2 separate regions of the Homo sapiens genome follow, and region 1 is linked to region 2. The links are contacts of gene promoters, found by promoter capture Hi-C in human tissues and cell types (Jung and others, 2019). All regions are on one chromosome and are shown on one strand. The core of a region is centred on a gene start or on the middle of the fragment in contact, and the rest is flanking DNA. Distances in the headings are between cores, read along the strand shown. Region 1 holds the start of UBE2Z (ubiquitin conjugating enzyme E2 Z). Region 2 holds the start of SP2 (Sp2 transcription factor).

Evidence for each region. The method cuts DNA at HindIII sites, captures the fragments that hold promoters and counts their contacts. A contact is called where the count stands out against the background at its distance.
Region 1: the fragment with the promoter of UBE2Z here is called in contact with the fragment with the promoter of SP2 in region 2 in 1 of the 25 tissues and cell types used here (hippocampus).

What each region holds. Positions count from the first base shown.
Region 1 is chr17:48,904,633-48,910,177 of GRCh38, reverse strand. It overlaps UBE2Z (ubiquitin conjugating enzyme E2 Z), which reads right to left and starts at 1,771. Exons shown (of 7, transcript NM_023079.5): 1 at 1,358-1,771. The coding sequence starts at 1,674. It overlaps LOC105371814 (a long non-coding RNA gene), which reads left to right and starts at 1,195. Exons shown (of 4, transcript NR_135674.1): 1 at 1,195-1,239. RefSeq lists enhancers at 1-39, 60-109 and silencers at 983-1,112, 1,383-1,632. The HindIII fragment of the contact is 7,727 bases long and covers 1-4,607 here.
Region 2 is chr17:47,894,331-47,900,087 of GRCh38, reverse strand. SP2 (Sp2 transcription factor) reads right to left here and starts at 3,852. Exons shown (of 7, transcript NM_003110.6): 1 at 3,795-3,852. The coding sequence starts at 3,801. SP2-DT (SP2 divergent transcript) reads left to right here and starts at 4,272. Exons shown (of 3, transcript NR_135480.1): 1 at 4,272-4,385. SP2-AS1 (SP2 antisense RNA 1) reads left to right here. Exons shown (of 3, transcript NR_103857.1): 3 at 785-1,702. RefSeq lists an enhancer at 1-4 and silencers at 3,353-3,782, 5,331-5,625. The HindIII fragment of the contact is 13,929 bases long and covers 1-5,757 here.

The DNA.
Region 1 (5,545 bases), core at 522-3,021, 1.0 Mb before region 2:
AAGATTTCTGACTCATATCTCACCAACTGGAATGGATCAGTTGAGAGCAAGGGGCTAAAGAACATTCTAGGTGGCGAAAAGCCTAGGGACTTGCTAGGGTGGGTAGGGACATAAAAAGGGCAAATAGGCGACAAAGCAGAGGAAAGCATTGGCCAAACTCAAAGGTATGTCAGAATTGGATGACTGAAATGGCTGGAGGAGGAAAAGAGTTGAGTGCTGAGTTTCAGTTAGAGGTGGCAATCCCTCCACAGTTGACCTCCTGTGTCAGGCACTGTGCCAGGTACTTTACACACATTATATTAATTTTTATTACAACCTTGAAAAGTAGACACAGAGACATCTGAAAGGACGTGGAACATGGGGAATAAGAACTAAACGAAGATGCTTGTGATGGGGGCATGGGGAGAAGTCAAACAGGTTTCAGGATTAATAGCTAAAGAGCACTGCCCTTTTCTTATGCGATAGGTACTATTCTATGTGCTTCTGGAAAACATCATCTACTAAATGATAGGATCTAAGATCAGTCACCCAAGAAATAAGCACAGAAAGGACTTAGGCCTTTGTTCCTATATTTGATGAGTATATTTGCTTCATAGAAGTAAAACAGACGACCCGGGGAGGGTGGGGGGTGGGGGGAGGGAAATTACAAGAAAGAAGCTCCTGAGTGGGATATTACAATCCAGAGTGGCACTGGGGAATTGGGGGGAGGTAGCCTGTGTTTCTGGAAGAGGCGTAAGAGTGGACAGCTTTGGGACACTGGAAAAGGGGTTCAAGGAAAGATTGGGGCGAGGGAAGCGATCTAGACCTGGGAAAAGACTGTGTGGAGGGAATCTGAGAAAAACGGAGGATAAAAAGAAAGGTTGGCTCGAGTCAGAGGCATGGCAAAGGAAGCTGAGTTCGTCTGTGTTAGGAACGGGGCTCCAGAGGAGAAGAGAGGGGACCGATGGGTGGGGCCTGCGGGCAGCATCTAGCAAGGTTGGGGTGGGGAAGGGGAAATAGGGGCGGCGCCGAAGGCGGGAGGGGGCGTTACTGAAGCGCTAAAGGGTCGGGTTTCCACCCGGAGGTGGGAGGTGTGGGGGAGGGTGGCCGGAATGGAGACGGAGGGCTCACGGGAGGTTGTCGAGGGGCGGGGTCGGATCTGGGCACACGAGGCGGGGGTTGGTGCTTGCGGGTCTGAGGGTGGGGGGAGAAGGGAGTTGGATCCCGACGCCCGGAGCTGGCAAGATTTGGGCCGTGGAGGTGGGCCGCCGCGAGGGCAGCGCAGTGGGTGGGGGGTGAGTTGTAGTGGGAGAGGGTGGGGGGCGGGGAAGGTCGAGCCCCGGAGCTCGGGGCTGGGGGAGGAAAAACCCCGGCTCACCGCTTGATCCGGAGTAGACACTGCGGCGCGGTGCGCTCGCCGTCCCAGTCGGAGCTGAGCGTGGGGTCCCAGTGGCTAAGCAGCGCGGCCCCGTGGGCAGCGGCTGAGGGCGGGAGCCCGGGCAGCGGAGCCAGGCCGCTCCCCGGGCCCCCGGCCCCGCCCGCTGCCGCCGCCGCCGCCCACACATCCGGCAGGAAAGGCGGCCCGAACCCGCCGCCGCTGCCGCTAACGCCAACAACACCAGCAACGCTGCTCGCCCCGGGGCCCGCCGCCCCGGCGCCCGCCGTTGCCGCCTCCTCAGTCGGACTCTCCGCCATCGCTGCTTCGCTTCCGGGACTACTCGGCAGCACGTCCGCCGACCAGAGCGGCCGCTGCTCCCGCCCGCTCCCGCACCACCGAGAACCGGGCCAGAGTGTCCCCACCCCCTCCGCTTCCACAGCCCAGACGGTGCTGGCTCCGCCCACCCCCGCCCCAACCAGCGAGAGGCGCTCTGCAAGAGCGTCCACCTACGGTCCTCCAGGACGGGAGGGGTGGGAACTAGCAGGCCGTGATGGTTCTGGGCTCGTGTGGGTCCTGCGCTGTGCGGAAGTAGCGGAGAGCCCAATTCAAGTGTTGAAAGGGGAGAAGAGAGGAGGGAGTGGGGGAGGAAGGGCCATATCATTCCCGTTAATGGCGGCGACCCTCAGACGTCTGCATGGTTAGGATTGGGGATCCAGCATCCTCATGGGAAGCTCAGTAGAGAAGTTGACTCGCTTTGGGCCCCTTCTCTCGGAAAGGCTCTGCGATTGATCCCTCCTGCACACTTGTGCACCTAGGGCAGGGTACCATTGCCCTTGCCTGCAACAGGACCAAGAGAGAACTCAACTTGGAATGAAAAGCTACCTCTTTTAGAGTTTATTCAACATATATTTATGAAGGGCCTACTAAATGCCAGTCACTGTTGCTAGTTGTTGCCATGGGGATAATGAAACAGAACTAGAGAAGCTTGGTGAAAGGAAGAAACATCAGGCCTCCTGACTCCAAGCTTAGTACTTTTTCTTCCCACAAATCTTGGAATATACAGGAATCGAGGTACTGTGAGTGTAAACCCTGAGGATTCTTTGGGTCTTTCCTAAAATGTTTAAAGTGAAAAATAATCTGCCAGGCTCGGTGGCTCACGCCTGTAATCCCAGCACTTTGGGAGGCCGAGGTGGGCGAATCACGAGGTTAGGAGTTCGAGACCAGCCTAACATGGTGAAACCCCGCCTCTATTAAAAATACAAAAATTAGCCGGGCGTGGTGGCGTGCACCTGTAGTCCCAGCTACTCAGGAGGCTTAGGCAGGTGGATCACTTGAACCCGGGAGGCGGAGTTTGCAGTGAGTTGAGATCACGCCACTGCACTCCAGCCTGGGCGACAGAGCCAGACTCCGTCTCAAAAAAAAAAAAAAAAATTCCTATGGACTAAGAATGACAGGGGCCTTCCTAAAAAACTGTTTTTCCTTGCCGGGCGCGGTGGCTCATGCCTGTAATCCCAGCACTTTGGGAGGCTGAGGCGGGCGGATCACTAGGTCAGGAGATCAAGACCATCCTGGCTAACACTGTGAAACCCCGTCTCTACTAAAAATACAAAAAATTAGCCGGGCGTGGTGGCGGGCGCCTGTAGTCCCAGCTACTCGGAAGGCTGAGGCAGGAGAATGGCGTGAACCCGGGAGGCGGAGCTTGCAGTGGGCGGAGATCGTGCCACTGCACTCCAGCCTGGGCGACAGAGCAAGACTCCGTCTCAAAACAAAAACAAAAACTTTTTTCCCTAGCAAAAATATAGGATCAATATTAACTGGAAACCAGTGGGGCCAGATGTATTTCAGACTTTGGAATGACACACCAAGCAAGGAGTGGGGCAGCGCCGGGTAGCCAAACCTATTGACATTTCTGCATCAAAGTGTATGAACATTCGTACCAAGTCAAATGAATAGCCTCACTTTGGATGTTTTGCCACCAAGTTTGGTTTTTTAAAAAAGAAGTCTGGGCCGGGCACGGTGGCTCACGTCTGTAATCCCAACAATTTGGGAGGCCGAGGTGGGTGGATCACCTGAGGTAAGGAGTTCGAGACCAGCTTGACCAATATGGTGAAACCCCGTCTCTACTAAAAATACAAAAATTAGCCGGGTGTGTTGGCAGGCGCCTGTAGTCCCAACTACTCAGGAGGCTGAGACAGAAGAATCACTTGAACCCGGGAAGGAGAAGTTGCAGTGAGCCGAGACTGAGTCACTGCACTCCATCCTGGGTAAAAGAGTGAGACTCCGTCTCAAAAAAAAGAGTCTGGCTTTAGAGTTTTTTTGTTTTTTGTTTTTTGTTTTTAAAGAGGGAATCTTGCTCTTGTCACGCAGGCTGGAGTGCAATGGCGCAATCGTGGCTCACTGCAATCTCCGCCTCCTGGGTTCAAACAATTCTCCTGCCTCAGCCTCCCCAGTAGCTGAGATTACAAGCATGCCTCTATGCCTGGCTAATTTTTTGTATTTTTTTAGTAGAGGCGCCTCTACGCCTGGCTAATTTTTTGTATTTTTTTAGTAGAGGCGAGGTTTCACCATGTTGGCCAGGAAGGTCTCCAACTCCTTTTGGAGTTGGATCAAGTCATCCGCCCTTCTCGGTCTCCCAAAGTGCTGGGATTACAGAAGTCATCCACCCACCCCACCCTTCCTGCCTTTTAGAGTTTTATGAATTTACAGTAATGGAATGCAGACCTGAAGGATAATGACCAAGATTTATGGAGAGCTAAAGATTGATTTGTTTTGAGACAGGGTCTTGCTCTGTCACCCAGACTGGAGTGCAGTGATGGGATCACAACTCACTGCAACCTCTGCCTCAGCCCTCCAAGTAGCTGGGATTACAGACACGTGCCACGATGCCCGGCTAATTTTTGTATTTTTCTGTAGAAGCGAGGTTTCACCATGTTGCCCAGGTTGGTCTCGAACTTCTGGGCTCAAGCAGTCCTTCCGCCTTGGCCTCCTAAAGTGCTCGGGATTACAGGCGTCAGCCACCGTGCTTGGCCTAAAAAATTATTTTTTTAGCAGACATTTATTGAGTGTTTAATATGTGGCAGGCATTTTGTATACTTTGGCTTTATTCCTTTCAACACTCAGTGAAGTAGTAGGTACTATTATTTATTTATTTTTATTTTTTTTTTGGTTTGGAGTCTTGCTCTGTCGCCCAGGCTGGAGTGCAGTGGCGCGATCTCGGCTCACTGCAAGCTCCACCTCCAAGGTTTACACCATTCTCCTGCCCTAGCCTCCCAAGTAGCTGGACTACAGGCGCCCACCACCACGCCTGGCTAATTTTTTATATTTTTTGTAGAGATGGGGTTTCACTGTGTTAGCCAGGATGGTCTTGAACTCCTGACCTTATGATCCATCCGCCTTGGCCTCCCAAAGTGCTGGGATTACAGGCGTAAGCCACCGCACCTGGCCTTAGGTACTATTATTAATCTGGTCTGATAGATGGAAAAACAGACTTACAGAGGTTCAGTGAATTACATGGGGTCATGCTGAGAGCAAGTCGCATAATTGGGACTGTAAACCAAATCTGACTTCTGAGAACAAGTGCTAACCACTACGTGACACTCCCACACTTATATTTTACCTTGTACTAATTATGGTCCCTTGGTACCTGTTGCCCCCACCCCCCCCCCTTTTTTTTTTCTGTGAGAGGGAGTCTTGCTCTGTCACCCAGACTGGAGTGCGGTGGCCTGATCTCAGCTCACTGCAACCCTGCCTCCCAGTTTCAAGGGATTCTTGTGCCTCAGCCTCCTGAGTAGTTGGGACTACACCACGTCCGGCTAATTTTGTATTTTCAGTAATTCCTACCTCTCAAAGTTTCCCAGAGGATTAACTATGACATTTCCAGAAGTTTTTGTAAAGTGTGGGCCACCATGCCCAGCTGCTTTTTATATTTTTAATAGAGACTGGGTTTCGCCCTGTTGGCCATGCTGGTCTCGAACTCCTAATCTCAAGTGATCCACCCCACTCAGCCTCCCAAGTGCTGGGATTACAGGTATAAGCATCCCCATCCCCTCTTAACACACATACGCACACAACGTGTACACCCTTGGGGCTCTAGACAATGTATTATATGTGAATCCAGCACAGGGCATGGCACAGCTTAGGCGCAACATGAAATGAAATGAATCAATATAGTATTTTATGCAGATTTTG
Region 2 (5,757 bases), core at 2,603-5,102:
CTCAGAGCACTCAGCAACAAAAACAAGAAAGCTAAGCCTCTGCACTGCAATGTGGCAGGGCTTCTGGCTAAGTATAGCAAGCAATTCTGATGTGGAGACAAACAGCAGCAATGGGAATGATATGCCAATGAAGGATTCCAACAGTTGGGTCTGCAAGTGTGCTTGTCCTGTGACACAAACGGCCTAGACATCTCAGCACTGCTTGGAGCTGCTCATTGGGGGAGCCTAAGAAACATCAGCCCTTTCACAACCTCTTGCTCCTGAGCAGAGCTCATCTCCCAAGAGCACATCAGCCCGCAGCCCAGTCTGATGAGAAGCACAGTATTCCCCTGTGCCAGTGGCAGCCTCAGAGCATCCTGAAAGAGCGCTTCCTAGACACGCAGTGGAAGCCATGACTTCCCCTAAGCTGCCGGTGCTGCCTCTGAACTCATGTGGAGGTTCTTTTTTCAGTGTCCCCAGAGGCAGCAGAAAAATCCGTTTTCCATTTTGGAATCTATCAAGTAGGACAAATCTGCCACCTGGGAGCATCTCCTCAAGGGCAATCTCTGCTCCCTTTCCTACATGGCCTGACAATACCCTCGAGTTAGAAATGTCCCATGTTGGCTAGGCACAGTGGCTCATGCCTGTAATCCCAGCACTTTGGGAGGCTGAGGTGGGAGGATTGCTTGAGGCCAGGAGTTTTGAGACCAGCCTGACATAGAGAGACTATGCCTCTATTATTTTAAAAAAAGAAATGTCACATATTTTTACCCTCTTCACTCATCTTTCCACCTTGCTCCAATAGATTGCTGACAGAAAAGTGAGACCTCCTCCACCCCAAGGTCTCCTAAGAGAATGCTGCTAGCCAAAAAAAGATCTGCTGATAATTGAGGAAGAGCATCTTTAAAAAGACACTCAACTACATTTCAGAAACATAAAGATCTAAGTGTTGGCTCTACAAGGGAAGAAATAAAGAGAAAGAACTTTTTTTCCTCCTACAACAGGTCTAGACAACGTCATACAAGGAGTTGCACGCATATCCAAAACAAAAGCAAGGCAAAAACAAGCAAAAAAGCAACAAATGCATTCCAAAATGATGTCCATTTATCAGCCCAGAAATGTACTGGATACTGGTTTAGTTCAGCCTGTAGGTGCTGGGAAGAAATTCCGACAAATCCAAGTCAGTTGCAAAAAGGGAAAACTCCAGACATATCACCCAATGAACTTGTAAGAAAGCATATGAGCTTCCCTGAACAGATTTTACTCCAGGTTTGCAGCCCGCAAGATTTAAGATGGGGCCATGAGGTTAAATCTTGTAAACTCAGAAGTGTTCACGCTACTGCATCCCTAAACTCTGTAACTCTCTACATACTCTTTAAAGCAGTGTTTCTCTGCATCTTTCATTCCATAGCCATTGTCCACCTGATCCAAAATATCCTAAGTTTTTCAGTGTTTGGAAGCAGGGTTTCCAATTTTTGTGTATACAGAAAAGGGGGGTGTGTGTGAAAAAATAAGTATTAGAAAAAAAACATGTTATACATATCTATCACAGAAATGAGTGGGCAAGGTTTAGAAGATGGCTGAAACCAAGCCAATACTAAGGTCTACTGGTTGGCTGCAACAAGTTTAAAATGTCTTCATAAGGGCCCTGGTTGGGCAATACTATACTTGCTGACAGTACTTGGGATCTGCCACAGACCTATAGCAAAGGACTGTTCAACTTCTCCAAAAAGCTGGTATTAACCACCAGAAGAAATAAGAAGTTCAAGGCCAAAATATCCAAATGAACCAACCACTCTACTTGCTGAAATGCCATAAAGCTTCTTTACCCCAGACATTTGCCCAAATCTTATAATTTCTTTTCTCCTCTCTGACAGGCCTCTCCAGAGGCCCAAACTTTAATAGAATCTGAGAGAAAAAAGTGGCCAGTCTATCTGCTGTCCAGAGTGATGCCAAACTCTTTCTCCCGGAGCCAGTTCTCCCCGTTGGGCAGTCAGGTGAGGATCCGATTATTAACAAACTCTACTTGGGTCTCCTTGGCAAAGAGTTTCTGGCTTCAGCAGCCTAGCTCAGGGGGGTTCATAATTATGTCAGACTCGCTTTTTTTCTTGTAGTTGCTTTTAACCAAAGAGGTTAAGCCTCTGTACAACCAAGAGGAAGAACTAGAATTAGAAAACTTACCAATCGTCCCAGCCAATGATAATCCATTTCCAACAGGTATTAACGCCTGTTAGAAGCCACTGGAACACTGACATCATCAGCCCAATTGATAGGTTGTCTGATAGATTCGCCCCCTTCATCGCACACAAGAATTTAAAACAAAACAAGACACTGCAGTTATATTCATTATTGCAGACAATGGGTTTCTTTGTGTTAGTAATTGAAATTACTGCTGTGGTCTGGACTCCACCATTATTTCCTTTGCAGCCTGTGAGCCAGCCAACACTCTAAACTTTCTAGCCCTAAAAATTGTATCATCCAGAATACCAACTCAATACAGCCCTCCACTGTGAAACTGAATGCCTTCTGGGGTACAGCATGAAACCGTTTTAGACAGTGCATGCCAGTGCACCTTGAAACAGTGTCCATCTGTAATGAAATCTGTAAACGGGAAACTTGGGCCAATTCATTGTTTAAAGCAGATCTACTGGCTCATACCTTTCTCTAGGAAACAATAAGTGAACAAGAAGTAACCTCAGAAGAAGAAAGAACTTTGGGAGAATGCACTGAGAAAGGCCAGACTGAGTCCCCTTGGATGAAGTTAATTAAGAAACAAACATGACAGGATATTGCAATCAAAACCAAGGAATGCAGTGAGGACAGGTTTCTCAGTTGCCCAGAGGAGAAAACATAGTTCCTTCTGAACTAAAATTAGAAAGCCGCTGGCAAGGAAACATAAGAAGCATGGATAAGAGGCTGAAAACCGTAAGTCAGCAATGGGGATGGAGGTGGGTACAGGAAGAGAGCGAGTATCTATTTTGTTTTATTTCTTCTGTAATTCCTTAAGATTGTTTGCGCCTGAGCTTTGGGACTGCAGTAGTCTCCCCTACGGGGCGTCAAGTAACAGGCTGGGAGCTCTGGCAAGAAGTTCTCAAACTTCTCACAATTCTGCTAAGAGCTTGCAGATATCTAGCTGGAAGATCAAGGATCCAAGTAAAAACATTAAAGGAAGGTTTTTGCCCACTCCCCGGTGAGAGGTCATCTGCCCAGGGAGTGCTCTCGTGTCCTGACACCATCGCCCGACTGGGGATATATCAGTAACCGGGCTGTCGTCGATGCCGAGCAGTGCCCATCTGGTTGGCAGCGTCCGGGTCTCAAGCGTTCCCTCGCCCCTCTCTGTTCTCCGGGGAGCCCTGAATCGCTGGTGGGCATCTACAGTTAAGAGTGCAGGAAGGCCTCTCAGACACGGGGCGAACACAAGGGCTGTTGGCTGCCTCCTCAGAGCCGACCCAGGCATAGTTCGCCCAGGCGGGAGAGCGGCGTTGAAGTGGGTCGGCACCCGTCCGAGGGGTGCCAGGCCACCCCGGTGCCCGCTCCTCTCGCCGGCCCCCGGAAGCGCCGCCCTCCCGCCCGGCGGGCTCCGAGGGGGCGGGGAGTCGAACGCCCCCTTCCGGGTGCCTCCGCCCGGCTGGCCAGCCCCGCTCCTCCTCCGGGCGGGAATCCTCCCTCCCCCGCCCCTCCTGAAGCCGGGCCCCGACGCCAGACCCAGCCCCAGGGGGGAACCCCCGGCCTCGGCTCCCTCTCCCCGCGGCCTCTGCCCGTCTTCCTGACCCTTGGGGGCCGGGAAGACCCCGCCGGCAGCGGCCGGGACCCACCGCTCATTACGACATCTTCCTCCCTGGCCTCCGCCGCCTCCGCCGCCACCGAGAGCCTGACACCGCCCGCCAAGCAACCGCCAATCCCGGAGCCCGCCACCGCCCGAGCGACGGCAGCCTTCACCAATAAGCGCTTGGAACATTGGGGACCGACAGCACTATTAACCAATCAACCAGAGGCGTCTAGAGCGACGTTGATTTGACCAATAGGTCTGTGCAATGTCACTGATGGACGGTAGAGCGCACCAACCGAAAGCCAATTGAATAATGAGTGACATGTGCATCAGCCAATTGGAGGGAGGCAAAGTCCCGCCCGCTGGGTGGTTGATGTACAGCAACAGGAAGCTGGAAGGGGAGGGGCTTAGCCGAAGAGTGCTTTTGTATTGGTCGAGGTTGACCTTCCACCCACCTCTAACCCAGAGGATGAATGATAGATCTGCCCTGAAGCCAATCAGAAGTCCTTAGGGTGAGGCCCACAAATGCCCCAGAAATAGCATATACATTGCGCCCTAAGTCCAGTCTCGCCCAGGTGTGGCAGGAGCTTTTACCTGCTCTTCGGCAGTAGCCGGCTGCCACTCAACCCCATGCCTGGTGAGTGGAAAGCCATCAACCTTTTATTTAGTCCCTCTCTCGTTGTCGCCTGGGGAGGGGCGACTTTGTACAGTGAGGCACTGGGGTCCGGCACCATAGTGGGAGTTGGGGTTGTTTACGCGACACTTCTAAGGGGATTTTCACAATCGGTTAAGCCCCCGTTAATCCTCACATGGTTATTGCGGCGACCCCCATAGCCCACGGTCCCAAACGTGTGCATCTGAATCATCCGAAGCTCTTTCTAAAGGCAGGCTCCCCTGGCCGCCTCTCCTAATCCGACTCGGTACTTCACGGGGCGTGCCTAGAATCTGCATTTTAGCAAGGGCCTCGCGTGGACAGAATTGCACGCTTGAGTTTGAGAAGTACTGCTTGGCCTCTGCCCCACTTACCCTTACCTTCTTGAGATGAGGTAAAGCACTTGGTAGGCACTAGGCGGGTAGGTTTATCTTTGCTCCCAAGTCTCTTCCGAGAACTTGGGAAGGCTGCCTAGCTTAGTGAGGGAATCCATTCTGGCTTCAGACCAGTCTGGGTTTGAAACCTACACATCCCACTAACTTAGGCAGGGTACCGAAACTCCCTGAGCTTCATGTCCTCATCAGTAAAACGAGGTTAATCACACCTACACCTTAGCGCGATGGCTTAAAAAAAAAAAAAAAAAAAACAAACAAAAAAAAACATAGTCCATCAAGAGAAATACATTTTGCATACAGACCAGTACACTGCTATTTGTATGAGAGTGTCATAAAGTTTCCGAAAACAATGCTTACTACTTGTGACGCACTGATAGTTTCTATGCTTATCCTATCCTATCTTATTCTCCTTCTTGTTGATCATGACTGGCAGTTTGAAAAACACTGCTAGAAAAGGTTGGTGTGATAATACAAAATGCAGAGCAGAATACCGGGTACACAGTAATTGCTGAATAAATGTTAATAGCCTCTTCCAGTCTTCTCCTCTCAGTGTTAGCCTTTGAAAAACAAGACTTTAGACAATAATACTCCTCTAGTAAAGATCCTTCATGGGATCCGTATCTCCTAGATAAAGCCCAAACTCCTTTCTAGGCAAAGTCCTCCCACTCTTTTTTCTTCTTAACCTCAGCATCCACCAGAGGACACACTCTTACTGGTGTATCTTTCATGCTTTATCTCCTCCCTCTACCCCCGTTCCCTTCCTACAAATCCTACCCTTTTCCCTCCAGGAAAGATTCCAGGTTCCTAAACACTTACGCTTTTTTCCACTAGTTGACTTCCTATGTGACCCTTCCCTTCTGGTAAACCCCTATGCATCCATGGCCGGATGTGTTGGCTCACACCTGTATTCCTAGTGCTTTGGGAAGCCAGAGGCAGGCGGATCACTTGAGCCCAGGATTTCG